3 separate regions of the Homo sapiens genome follow, and regions 1 and 3 are each linked to region 2. The links are contacts of gene promoters, found by promoter capture Hi-C in human tissues and cell types (Jung and others, 2019). All regions are on one chromosome and are shown on one strand. The core of a region is centred on a gene start or on the middle of the fragment in contact, and the rest is flanking DNA. Distances in the headings are between cores, read along the strand shown. Region 1 holds the start of LOC124904896 (a long non-coding RNA gene). Region 2 holds the start of GHRH (growth hormone releasing hormone). Region 3 overlaps KIAA1755.

Region 1 (4,595 bases), core at 1,346-3,845, 660 kb before region 2:
TCAAACCTCGGCTCCAATGTCACCTCCTCAGTGAGGCCCTCCCTTCTCCCCCACCCTCTCTCAGTTCCCTTTTCTCTACCTCATATTTCTCCTTACCACTCATCACTCCCCTATTACATGTTTGCTCATTTTATTTCTGTGTATCATCTGTACTCCAACTAGAATTGAAGATGGAGATTCTAGTTAAAGGCAGGAGATTCTAGTCTGTTCACTGCCATGTCCCGGCAGCTAGAGCAACACCATGCACATAGTAGATGCTCAGGGAACACTCTGCTCTAGCAGCTCTGGTGGCAGGCAGGGGAAGGATCCCATTTTCCCTACTCCGGGCTGCCTGGGGCCTTCAGGAAGCTCCCGTACTTGGGCCTCATTGGGAAACTACCAGCCCTCAGGGTCAAAATCAGGCTCCCAGGCTCGGCATCCAAAGTCTGCAGGCTCTGGTTCTGCCCAGACCCCAACTGCAGCCCCTCCTGGCCACTTACATGTGTCCCCCTAAGGACACAGCCTGCACACTGTCCCTGGAATCCTGACTCACAGGTAGTCCTCTGCCTAAAGGTACTCTCCCTCCTCAGGCTAGGGTGGAAGCCCTGCTTGGTGCCCCCAGAGGTCTCCGAGGCTGCCTCTCCCTGCCCTGGAGTGTGTTACATGACAGATGCTGAGTGTGTTATATGACATCTGGAGTGTGTTATATGACAGATGTTATATGACAGGTGTCTGGGTCTCCTGCAAGCTGGGAACTCTCCCAGGTCAGGGACCCTGCATTGCCCAGCCCAGATCAGGCACACAGGAGGTGGCTAGGCATGTACTAAACACATGAGTGAATGAATGAATGAATGAATCAATCAATCAATCAATCAATCAAGGGAGAAAGGAAGGTCAGACAAAAGCCCAGAGGATTGAAGTTCTAAGGAAAAAACCAATAGGCATAGAAATCATTCATTCATTCATCCAGTTCATTCATTCACTCAACATTTATTGGATGCCTACTATGTGCCAGATTGGAGTTTCCTGGGGGGACTGTGCCCACAGGAGCAGGGATAGGGACAGACATGTGGACACTATGGACATGCATAAGCAGGGAGGTCCTAAGTGAGGCTTGGCAGGCCGGCCTCCTCCCCACTGTCCCTCTCCTCCTGGCCCTTGTGGCCACTGGCTGCCCAAGGCCAGCCTGGCCCACCTGGCCCAGCTGAGGGGCCACCCAGCCAGACTGACAGGCAGGCTGGAGGCTCCCCCTGAGATGGCCCATAAAGTCATCTTGTGAAACGCAACCAAGAATGAAACAGGGCAATAAATAAAGGCTGACAGTGCCAGGAGTGGGTGGCTGCTTCGCCAGTAGCTCCCCAACCCTTGTTGGCTACGGGCCAGCCCAGCAGCCCCGTGGCATCATCTTTCTGATTGGAGCCCACGATGCAACAGGAAGGTGATGTGCCTGATCCCATATGATGCTCACAGTGATCCTGCTGGGCAGGGATCATTGTCCCTTTATTCCAGGCAGGGAAACTGAGGCTCAGGGACATGTGTCACAAGGTCACACTGCAAGTCAGGAGCAGGAGCTGGGATTCAAACCCAGACCTTGGGACTCTAGAATTCAAACACTTCCCTGTTTCTGCTGGCTCCGTTGTTGCAGTGATGAAGACAGAGTAAGGGGGCATCGACAGCCTCTGCAGCCACTGCCCACTTCCATACCTGGCCCTTTTCCAGCAGCGTGAGAAAACCAAAGCTCAGAGAACCTGGGGGCCATTGGAGCCAGTCTCCTGCCCCGGGGTTGAAGGAAGGAAGCCCCTCCTCTATGCCAGACACTGTACACAGGACCCCTTTCATCCTCTCAGACTTGATGAGATGGTACTATTATCAGCCCCATTTCACAGAGGAAGTGCCAAGGCTCAGAGAGGGAGAGTCGGTGCCTGAGATCACACAGCATCAAGGGACAAGTTAGAGTTCAGCCTGACTTCAAGCTGGCTGCAAAATTTCCCCCACTGAAGCCTAAATCTTATCTAAGCCCCATCCTTTTCAGCTAGAAAAAGTGTGATTCTCTGGGGCCATTTCCAGGAAGCCTGCTCTATGCCCAGCTCAGCTGGGTGGCAAGGCCACAAGGGTGTGTGTGCTCCAGGTTCAGGAAGGCCTGTGGCCACCTTGCCTCCCAGCTGGGAAGCAGAGTAAGAGCTCTCCCGGGGAAAGGGCTGGAGAGGGAGGATTTAATGAGGTCCCAGCCCAACCGCCTGTAAATCTCAGCTGGCTTCTAAAATCAGGAGACATAAAATCCCCATAAGAAGAAAACCCAGATAATCAGGATGGAAAAGCCCTCCAGAAACAGAGAAGCCTGGCTGTGTCCAGGGCCCTCTCCTCCCCAGGGAGGCACCCGAGGGTTCTCTTTGTTTCTTTCTGGGTAGCCCTTGGCCCCTGACAGGTGCCTGCGGCAGGAGGAATGGAGGTGTGAGTTCATGAAGGTTGCTTCACCTTGGGACAGGCAAACAAACGCAGATGGGCTTTCTTCCTAAGAAGCCAAGAAGAAGGCATTTTGTAAGAAAGCTTAGGGAACTGCAGCATGCCTTGGTGGGAGGTGTCTGCCTCAGCGTGCAGTAGGAGCTTAAGTCCTCCCTCAAAAGGAATGGAAGAGATCAGCTCTGATGGACCCCCTACCCTAAGCCAGGCCCCGTGCCAGGCTTCCCAGGATGCCACAGATCAGGCCCCTGCCCTCAGGGAGCCTGCAGTCCCCAGGAGAGACACACATGCCAGAGACTGCTATAGGAACAATGGCTGGGATTGAACCTGGACTGCCATGTACAGTTGTTCAGAATGTGCACTGTTCATATGGCCATGAATCATAGTGCTGCCCAGGGTTATGCAGGGCAAACTGCATGTTGGAGCTATGGAAGGAGGTGCAGGTTCTAGAAGATCCTAGGAGAAAGATAGGCTCGTGTCTGCCTGGAGAGTCAGGGGAGGTTACCAGGAGAAGGGGACTTGCTTGGACCTGAAGGCTGACTGAGGTTTGCACAGTCAGAGGGGACTCAGAACAGAAAAGGGCATACCAGAGAGGGGTCTCCCAAGCCCAGCCTTTTAGCTGCCATCACCATTTCCACAGGGTCCCTGTACCACATGCACCATTATTTACTTAATATTTATTTTCAAAGCATCTTTCCCCTTTTACTTAAATAAATTCAGGTTAAAAGAAGACTTTTATTACCGCCATAAATGAAAAATCAGCATCACTTGCCATAAATAGAGGGTAACTGTAAAAATAAACGCTATGAAAACCAAACAGCATTCGTAAATTCTAGCCAAAGAAGCTTGCCTGCTGAAGGCTATGAGCCTCAATCTCCGTTTTTTTCTCATTAACAAGGGAGACTGGCGAAGGTTAGGTGTTAAAGTCAGAGAAGCACCAGCAGAGACTTTCTTCTTAATCACAAGGGGCTTGGGACGCAGGTCCTGCTCAAGTGTGGACACCAGCGGGCACCCAGCACCAGCCCTGGCTTCCGATGGCCATGGCCCAATCTCACAACCCATCACTAGTTCCCACCTCCAAGCCTTGCTCCTGCTGGGCCACATACCTGGAAAGCTTCCCTGCCACTTCCCTATCCCAATCTTGCCGATTCTTCCAGTGTGGCTCTTGGGACAGCATCCTTGCCCGTAGTGAGAACTAACACCCACTTAAGGAATGAAAATACCTGAATTGCATACTTGGAGAATGAATGAACAAAGAAATGAATGGATGACCCCTTTATGGTCTGTGCTGCTCAAACCAGGAAAGCAACTTCCTGAGGCATTGACTTCACTCCAGAAACATGGGACAAGAACGTTATTTTTGTATTAAAACAAACATGAATATATTATGGGATAGAATATAGAAGTCATAAATTTTGAATGAAATAGGAGACATCAAAGAAATGTTGCCCCTGGTGAGAGCTGTTTACTCTCCTGCGTGGGCCGCACGCCATCAACGGCCTCTTGTCCCATCCAGTCCAAAGCCTCCTTCTCCGCAACCCCAGGCTCCGCAGAGCTCAGACTGTGCTCTACCCACAGGAAGTGCTGGTGTGGTGGCTAACAGGGGAAGGGGCCAGGGGGACGGTCGGGCACTAGGGCGAGGGGGAGCCCAGGATTTACGGTGAGGATGCAAGCCACAGCTCTCCCTGGCGTGCTGGGTGGCATTGTGCAAGCTGCTTCACTACTCTGAGCTCTGGTTTCCCACTGTGTCATTGATTACAGGCTTATTTTGAGGATTAAATGGGCAAATGCAAGTGAAGAGCCTGTTTCAGTGTGTAGCACCCAGAAGGTCCACAACAACCGCTGTTCCCTGGTGGAACCCACTCCTTGCTGAGCCTTAGACACAAGCACATTCACCCAGGTGGGTCCTTGCCTGTCTCTGGCCGATGGAGGAGGGGCCGCCCTGCCTAGTAAAAATTTAAATAGCTAACATTTTTTTTTTCTTTTTTTCTTTCTTTTTTGAGACAGAGTCTCACACCGTCGCCCAGGTTGGAGTGCAGTGGCATGATCTTTGCTCACTGCAACCTCCGCCTCCCAGGTTCAAGCAATTCTCCTTGCCTCAGCCTCCCAAGAAGCTGGGATTACAGGCGGCCTCCACCACGCCTGACTAATTTTTT
Region 2 (4,544 bases), core at 1,801-4,300:
TTGAGTTCTGGCCAGGACAACATAGTGAGATCTCATCTCTACTAAAAATAAACAAAATTAGCTGGGCATGGTGGCGTGCAACTGCAGTCCCAGCTACTCAGGAGGCTGAGGTTGGGGACTGCTTGAGCCTAGGAGGTCAAGGCTGCAGTGAGCTGAGATCTCACCACTACACTCTAGCCTGAGCGAGACCCTGTCTCCAAAAAATTAAGTAAATAAAATAATAATAATAATAATTAATTTAAAGCTATCAACCCATTTATTTTTATTTTTATTTTTATTTATTTATTTATTTTATTTATTTTTTTGAGACGGAGTCTCACTCTGTCACCCAGGCTGGAGTGCAGTGGCACCATCTTGGTTCACTGCAAGCTCCGCCTCCTGGGTCCTGAGCCATTCTTCTGCCTCAGCCTCCCGAGTAGCTGGGACCACAGGCACCCACCACCACGCCCGGCTAATTTTTTGTATTTTTAATAGAGACGGGATTTCACCATGTTAGCCAGAATGATCTCGATCTCCTGACCTCGTGAGCCGCCCGCCTCAGCCTCCCAAGGTGCTGGGATTACAGACGTGAACCACCACGCCCTGTTTTTATTTATTTTTTTTTTTGAGACAGAGTCTCACTCTGTTGTTCAAGCTGAAGTGCAGCGGCGCCATCTCGGCTCACACCAACCTCTGCCTCTGGGGCTTAAGCTATTCTTGTGCCTCAGCCTCCCCAGTAGCTGGGATTACAGGCACATGCCACTACACCCAGCTAATTTTTTTGTATTTTAGTAGAGACGGGGTTTCACCATGTTGCCCAGAGTGGTCACGAACTCCTGAGCTCAGGCAGTCCGCCTGCCTCGGCCTCCCAAAGTGCTGGGGTTACAGGCATGAGCCACCGCACCTGGCCACTATCAGCCCATTCTTAATCCTTGGGGATCTGGCCTGACCTGACCACTTCGTATCCTGGCCAGCAAGGTGACATACCACTCAAGCCTTGCTTCTATGAGAAACATCTCATATTTGCTAGATGCCAAGAACATGGCTCAGTGCAGGCTAAGAAGGAGAACCACAAAATAGTGTTGCTAAGGGGACTCTTGGAAATTACTGGCTTGTAATTGTGACCCATCGAGGTACCTCAGGGATAGGCAAGGGGGTCTCCACTTCCCCCTCTTCAACCAGAGTAGCCCCATATTAAAAACCTGTCTCTGTAGGTTTCCAAAGAAAGAGTTTTGCTACTTTTTAAAAAATGTTTGGGCTGGGTGTGGTGGCTCACACCTGTCATCCCAGTGCTTTGGGAGGCAGAAGCACGTGGATCACCTGAGGTCAGAAGTTTGAGACCAACCTGGCCAACATGGTGAAATCCCATCTCTACTAAAATACAAAACTTAGCCAGGCGTGGTGGTACGCACCTGTAATCCCAGCTACTCTGGAGGCTAAGGCAGGAGAATCATTTGAACCCGGGAGGTGGAGGTTGCAATGAGTCGAGATTATGCCACTGCACTCCAACCTGGGTGGCAAAGATAGGATCCCTCTCAAAAAAATAGTTTGAAAGTTGCTGTTCTATGTCAACTCTCAAGTTTCCAGGTAGAAACTGAGGCCCGGAGGGTAGAAGTTTTTTTTCTTTTTTTGAGACAGAGTCTCGCTCTGTCGCCCAGGCTGGAGTGCAGTGGCACGATCTCGGCTCACTGCAACCTCCACCTCCCGGGTTCAAGCAATTCTCCTGCCTCAGCCTCCTGAGTAGCTGGGATTACAGGTGCCCACTACCACACCCAGCTAATTTTTGTATTTTTAGTAGAGACGGGGTTTCACCATGTTGGTCAGGCTGGTCTCGAACCCCTGACCTCATGATCCACCCGCCTCAGCCTCCCAAAGTGCTGGGATTACAGGTGTGAGCCACTGCACCCAGCCAGGTAGAAGTAACTTCCTAAGGGTCACAGAGGTCATGATTGACAGGCTTGGGAGAGGCAGCAGGTCCCTAGACTCGAGGCTTGGAGCTCTTTCCACACCTCCACGACGGCCGCCTGGGAAACCAGAGCTTCTGCCTCCTGTGCTTTTATGTCATTCCTGAGGATTTCTTAGCTATAGGCTAGAGAAATCTGGAAACACAACAACTCTCCCAAGGTTTTCCATCTCTTCCCTCTCATTTCACACTTCTCTGAGGCAACTGCCAATGTCTGGCTGCCTTGACAGGTGACGACGGATGCCCCCAGGCTAGCTGTTGAAATCAGCCTGTGACCAAGCAGGTGTAAATCAAATAGTGCAGAATTCTGATAATTGGACGACAAGGGAGATAGGGAACAAATTCCCCACTAAGGAGAGAATAACGCTTATTCATAATGTTGTCTACCCAAAAGTGAAATAAAATTACACAGGGACAAAGCTAAATTATATGAACTTTTGAAAAGGCACATTTATCTTGGAGAATCAATAAACTCTTGGTGTTTCACTGTTATGAGTTCTCCAATTATTTTTAACACATATTTTTTCTTTTTTTAAAAAATATATATTTTGAGATAGAGTCGTGCTCTGTCACCCAGGCTGGAGTGCCATAGCGTGGTCTTGGCTCACTGCAACCTCCGCCTCCCAGGCTCAGGTGACACTCTTGCCTCAGCCACCTGAGTAGCTGGGACTATACCCATGTGCCAACATGCCCAGCTAATTTTTAATTTTTTTCTAGAGACAGGGTCTCATTATGTTGCCCAGGTTGGTCTCAAACTTCTGAGCTCAGGCAATCCACCCGCCTCAGCCTCCCAAAGTGCTAGGATGGCAGGTGTGAGCCACCGCGCCCAGCCGAGTTCTCCAATCACTATTATAGCAGTATATATTCTCTATATCCTCTTGGAATAATGTTACACCTTTGTACTATGTCCACTGTGCCAAAGATAAAAGGAGACTTTACCAGGAGTCTAAGTCTGCAAGGGGCCAAACCTCTTTCACCAACAGGGTTTGTCAGTGTGATATGATGCTAAAAACAGTCCTTTGGTTGACTTGTGGGTAATTGATTCTCTGACGCTGACAACGCTTAGGAAAATGAAGAGATAAATGATGGGAACGCCAGGCGGCTGCCAGAGCAAACACCCAGCCCAGGGCCCCTGGATTTGAGCAGTGCCTCGGAGCAGAGGGATATCTGCCGCATCAGGTGAGAGGGGTGGCCCTGGGGGGGCTAGGCTGGGTGGGGGTAAGAAAAGTTAACCTTCTCACCAACTTAGAAACACTGAGTCCAAGAGGCCCACCGCCATCCTCTTTGCCCATGGACTGGTGAGTACATTTGAGCCCCTCTCTGGATAAAATCACCCCTCAATAGGGGCTCTGGAATAGGCTTTTGATGGTGCTGTTTGGGGCTTGTCTTAACTTGGGCGCGTGGCGGACTGGCTCCAGGTGTCTGTCGCAGGTGGTGAGGTCTCAGTGCTCCTTCGAGGATGCGTGGGCAGGCTTCGGGGGCAAACGTGAGTTGGCTCGATTTTCCTGTCAGCGATGGGATTCTGCCATGGATCAGAGATGAGCCAAGTGGCTGTGCAAATCAATACTGCTCATTGATCACTCAGAACTGATTCAATGTAATTGCCGGGAAATTGATAACATTTTGCTTTCTTGCTCAATTGCAGCCACACTCTTTACTCCAGGTTTTAGACACAATTATCTGCCTTTGGAGTCCTCCGCTACCCCACGCCTGTCTCCTGATCCTTGCTTTAATGGTCCTGAAGTATTTGTGTCTTTCACCATAGACTGCCTCAAACCCCTTCTGGAAGGAGGTGGAGTGTCACTCTTTTGAATGACAGTTCAAGATGCTTCCTCATTAAAAACTTAGATTTCTTTTAACTTGGAATGCTGTCACTGAAACAGTTTATAAACCAGATCAGGAAGTCTATGCTTTGGGGTGCTCAAATTTCAAAGGGGGATATTCAAGGAAGGTTAAAGATGTTCTTTCCCTGGGTTTTCAAAAATGGCCTTGCGAATTTGGGTGCTTGAGACCTGACCTCTGTCAGCTGCAGGTGAATCTGCAGAATTCTCCTGGCATTCCTGGCATGAAAGCTGGCAAAAGGTGCCAACGGATGTAGATCAAGTGCCCGTTTATCCTGAATCCAGGCAATCTCAAGTACATCTAATCCCAGAATCAGTAAGCACTGCAGGAAGCTAACCGATGATCATAATGATAGATTATAAACTCTGGAGTGCCTTCAGTCATCAGGGTTGCCAGCAATGCTGTTGGGCTCGGCTACACTTCATTCAGTGAATTTTGACTCCTTAAGTTGTCATGTGGAATGTGTCTGTTGACAGCTATTTTATTTTATTCTTTGAGATGGGGTCTTGCTCTGACATTTAGGCTACTGTGCAGTGGCACTATCATGGATCACTGCAGCCTTAACCTCCCGGGCTCAAGCAATCCTCCCACATCAGCCTCCAGAGTAGCTGGGACTACAGGCATGCGCCACCATGCCTAGATAAGTTTTTTTTTGTTTTGTTTTGTGTGTTTTTTTTTTTGTAGAGATGGGGTCTCGCCATGTTGCTCAGGCTGGAGCTATTTTATCCTTAGTGACATAACCTCTATTCTTCTTATCTTA
Region 3 (4,272 bases), core at 1,559-4,058, 980 kb before region 2:
CGAAGCATGGAGAGGGGTGGCGAGGCTGGAGGGGAGGCGGGGGCGGAGGGCAGCTGCCAGATCTCAGGGGAGCTGGATGCCTGGAGGCTGATGCTTCCTGAAGACGGTGGGAACCTTTGAGGAGTTTGGAGCAGAGACTGATGAGGTCTGGTTTGCATTTGAGAAAGGTCGCTCTGGGGTCCTGGTGGAAAATGGCTGGGGTGAGGCAGACGAGAATTTGGCAGCCAAAGAGAGGAGTCAGGTGATCCTGGGTCCTGGGCCCAGTTTTCCCTCTTCTGGACTCTGACTGCCAGGGGGACGGGCTGACTGCCTTCTGGATCCCTTCCTGGAAGAGGCGGTGAAGCCTGGATCAGGGCGGGGGCAGGGGACAGCGCGGAGCACCTGGCTGGAGAGCTGTTGGTGGAGGGGAAGTGGTGTGGGACACACTGAGGGCTGATTGTGGGTTGGGAGGCAGGAGGAGAAGCAGTGCTGTGAGCAGATTTCTGGCCTAGGAGCCTGACTGGGCGGTGGGGTCATCACCGAGGTAGGACTGGGGGAGGAGCAGGTTTGGGAAGTTGCCAGGTTGGGTCTGATATGTTGGCGGTTGGTGGCTGAGAGGCATCTAGGAGGTCCATGGGAGGCAGCTGGCTGTACAGTCTGCAGCCGTGGACTTGTATCAGTTATTGCTGTGTGAAAAATGACCCCAAAGCTCAGTGGCAAAACAGCAATCACTTATTCTCACTCTCCCATCTGCATGTGGAGTGGGGCTGTCTGGTCTGGGCTGGGCTTCCCTCGTGGCTCAGCTTCAGGCTGCAGGCCTGCAGGCCAGCCAGGCGGTCAGACTGGGGCAATGCCAAAATCCTCTTTCCCTTTGACCCTGACCTGAATGCCCACCCCCCACCCCTATTCCTCCACGTCTCCGTGGATCAGCAGATGACATTTGAGCAAAGACCTGCAAGAGGTGTGGGAATGAGGCTGTCTTGAGGAAGAGCATTCTAGGCAGAGGGAACAGCCAGTGCAAAGGCCCCGAGGTGAGATTGTGCCTAGTGTGTTTGAGGGACAGGAAAGAAGGCCAGTGTGGCTGGCAGTGATGAGTGAGGGGGGTGGGGTAGGAGAGGAGGTCAGAGAATTAGCAGGGGCCTTAGGCATATGGGGCCTGGAAGGTCACGGGAAGTGGTCTCTGCCCTTATTATCATTGCTATTATCACCCCCTCCTCCTGTCCCCCACAGGACCCTCCATCCCTCGACACAGCCATCCAGCATGCCCTGGCGGGCCTCTATCCTCCTTTCGAGGCCACAGCACCCACCGTCCTGGGTCAGGTGTTCCGTCTCCTGGACTCTGGCTTCCAGGGGGATGGGCTGAGCTTCCTTCTGGATTTCCTGATCCCTGCCAAGCGCCTGTGTGAGCAAGTGCGAGAAGCAGCCTGTGTAAGTCAAGAGGGAAACAGGGACAGGGAACAAGCTGTTCCAGAAAGTCATGGGGCTAGAGGCGGGCAGAGAAGGAGGTGGGCTGGCCTGTGTCTTGTTTCACGGGGAGCTGAGGGTGTGGGGGGACTTTCCAAGTATCATTGCTTGCCCAGGGGGAGACATCAGCCCCCCAGATCGAAGGGGATTTACCTTGTGACATCTATGAGTTCATTACATTGTACTGTCACCAGCAGAGAAGAAGGCCTGAGTAAAGGCATCCTTGGGGGCTCCCTGGTCTTGGGGAGCCTGCCCTGCGCCTGACATTGTGGGCACTGCCAAGTGCCTTTGGTGAAGTGAGGCAGCTTCAGTGGAAATAGCAGAGAAGGTCCTAGAGCTTCCCTGGAGCCCCTGAGGCATCAGGACTCTTGCTTTCTTCCCCTGTGACCTCTTCAAACTCAGATCTCAGGGAGGCCTCTGCCAAGGCAAAGTGGAGAGAAAAGTGTTTTAGCCAGACTCATTGGCTGCAAATGACAGAATCCTCACTCAAACCAGGGAAGGGTGGATCAGGCCTCAGGCCCAAGTTGATCCACTGATCAAATCCCTTGAAGATCCTTTCTGTCCCTAGTCTCTGCTTTGCGCTGCTTGTTGGCATTATTCTTCCAGGCTAAGTGTTCCCACAAGGCTGGAACCCAGGGAAGCTCAAGGATTTATATTCTATCCTAGAGAGGAAAATAAACTCTTTCCCATCCACTGCACATAGAAAAATCTCAAGGAAGGATCCTGATTGGCCAGGCTTGGGTCATATGCCCATTCCTGGACCAATCACTGTGGCCAGAGGAGTGGGGTACCAGGATTGGCCAAGCTTGAGTCACGTGTCTACCTCTATGGTCAGAGGGTGGAGCTGTTTTAAGAAAAGGATGAGAAGGCCGGCAGTGGTGGCTCATGCCTGTAATCCCAGTACTTTGGGAGGCCAAGGCAGGTGGATCATGACGTCAGGGGTTTGAGACCAGCCTGGCCAACATGGTGAAACCCCGTCTCTACTAAAAATACAAAAATTAGCCGGGCGTGGTGGCACATGCCTGTAGTCCCAGCTACTCAGGAGGCTGAGGCAAGAGAATCGCTTGGAGGCAGGAGAATCGCTTGAACCCAGGAGGCAGAGGTTGCAGTGAGCCAAGATCACGCCATTGCACTCCAGCCTGGGTGGCACAGTGAGACCCTGTCTCAAAAACAAAAAACAAAAAACAAAAAACAGAAAAGGATGAGAGAAGCCTGAGGAGACCAAGCCGTCAAATGCCCACCACAGGAACTTGCCATTCCCTTCATGGGTTTCCCTACTGTTCCCTGCTCTGTTGTTATTAACATCCACCCTCCTGCTACCTCAGCCTCAAGAATCACAAAGAGGTTCTAAGGTCCCATCAGCCTGTCCTGAGTTGCCCACTGCCTGTCAGGGACACAGCTCATCAGAAGCAACAAGGAAGGGTGGGGACTGTGTGCGTCATTCCAGTGGTAGAAATAAATTGAACGTGGCAGCTAAAAGTCCAGGGTTAGGAACCAGAAGGAAAGTGAGATAATCTATTTTACATGCTTAGCACAGAGCCTGGCTCATAGATCATAGCTCAATACATGGGAACTAGTATTGGAGAAGAAGGGAGCTTCTCATGGAAGCATTTGCAGCCACTTCCACATGACACTATTTCATGCAGATGCTCCCCCATCCTTATTTCTTCTCCCTGACAAGCTACACAATTGCCCACTTCCCTTATTTGGCCATTTAAACTTCATTTGCACTGGCCGCTTCCTCAAGGTAACAACATTTCCGCGTCTTTATTTTTCCTTGTAGGTGAGTTTAATCTAATTGTAATGATAGGCAAATATCTGTCAATCTCAGAGCAATGGGAAGTCATGTGTGATTAACAGGATGGCTTCTGGGTTCAGATGCCCCAGGTTCAAATCCAAGCTCATCACTGTGAACTTTGGAGATCCATGCCACCTCTCTGAGTTTCAGTTTCCTTATGTGTCAAGCAGAAACGTTAATAACACAGCACCTAACACATGGAGATGACAACACATGGAGATGACAACACATGGCTTAGCAAAGACTCTGGCATGCAGCAAGTGCCCAGTAGCTATTGGCTATCGCTATCCCACTTCCTTGTTTCTCCATCTGAAATAAGAGCATGGCAGCCTCAAAGTCTGCCTCTCCAGCCACCATCACCCAGAAGCAGCCACCTTCACATGAAGTCTGGTGGGGCTTGGGGACAGATACAGCTGACTTGAAATGTGAAGGCCTAGGTCCAAGTCCCTGATGCTTATCAGCTGTGTGGCTATGAGCCAAATGTTTCACCACACTGAGCCTCAGTTGCATCATCTGTAAAATGAAAATAATAATGCCTGGACTGCCTACATCAAACTGAGTTACTGTGAAAGTCAAGTGAGATGAGCAAAGCCATCATCACTCTGGTGCTTTGCTGTTTGCAAAAAATGGCTGGGCTGTTTTTTCTCATTCAATGAGAAGGTGAGAGAGAAAGCATGTTGCAAACCCAAGAGGGCTAAGTGAAAAGGGTCGAGAAAACCTACAGACTCATGAAGGTTTATGGATATTAAGCTTCTCTGAGGCAGCCCAATCTACAATATGACTGATATAAATGGGTTTATCAACATAAGGTATAACTATGGTCAGATCTCACTATTTCCGCAATCAATAATTCCAGGAAACACCTGTTTAATTAGCAGGAAATTCAGTCTCACTCTCTGTACATCTCCCCTACACACATCCAAATTATATAAGATTGTCTGGGACTTACTCAATCCACAGAACTCAGACTCTTTTTCCAAAAGCCAGTTAAAGACCTGTTGTCAGCCCAGTGGAGCTGTTGTTTCCGTTGT

What was found. Contacts are between HindIII fragments. The study calls those that stand out against the background at their distance.
Region 1: a fragment that was not itself captured here is called in contact with the fragment with the promoter of GHRH in region 2 in 1 of the 25 tissues and cell types used here (mesenchymal stem cells).
Region 3: a fragment that was not itself captured here is called in contact with the fragment with the promoter of GHRH in region 2 in 2 of the 25 tissues and cell types used here (heart right ventricle and lymphoblastoid cells).

What each region holds. Positions count from the first base shown.
Region 1 is chr20:37,917,159-37,921,753 of GRCh38, reverse strand. All of the region lies in intron 1 of VSTM2L (V-set and transmembrane domain containing 2 like), which reads right to left. It overlaps LOC124904896 (a long non-coding RNA gene), which reads left to right and starts at 2,762. Exons shown (of 3, transcript XR_007067576.1): 1 at 2,762-4,595. RefSeq lists an enhancer at 4,026-4,527. The HindIII fragment of the contact is 6,050 bases long and covers 1-4,595 here.
Region 2 is chr20:37,260,320-37,264,863 of GRCh38, reverse strand. GHRH (growth hormone releasing hormone) reads left to right here and starts at 3,050. Exons shown (of 5, transcript NM_021081.6): 1 at 3,050-3,121. The HindIII fragment of the contact is 8,848 bases long and covers 1-4,544 here.
Region 3 is chr20:38,243,064-38,247,335 of GRCh38, reverse strand. It overlaps KIAA1755, which reads left to right. Exons shown (of 14, transcript NM_001029864.2): 2 at 1,210-1,407. Among named protein-coding and RNA genes, the nearest start is that of KIAA1755, 16 kb to the left of the region's middle. RefSeq lists an enhancer at 394-894. The HindIII fragment of the contact is 6,067 bases long and covers 1-4,272 here.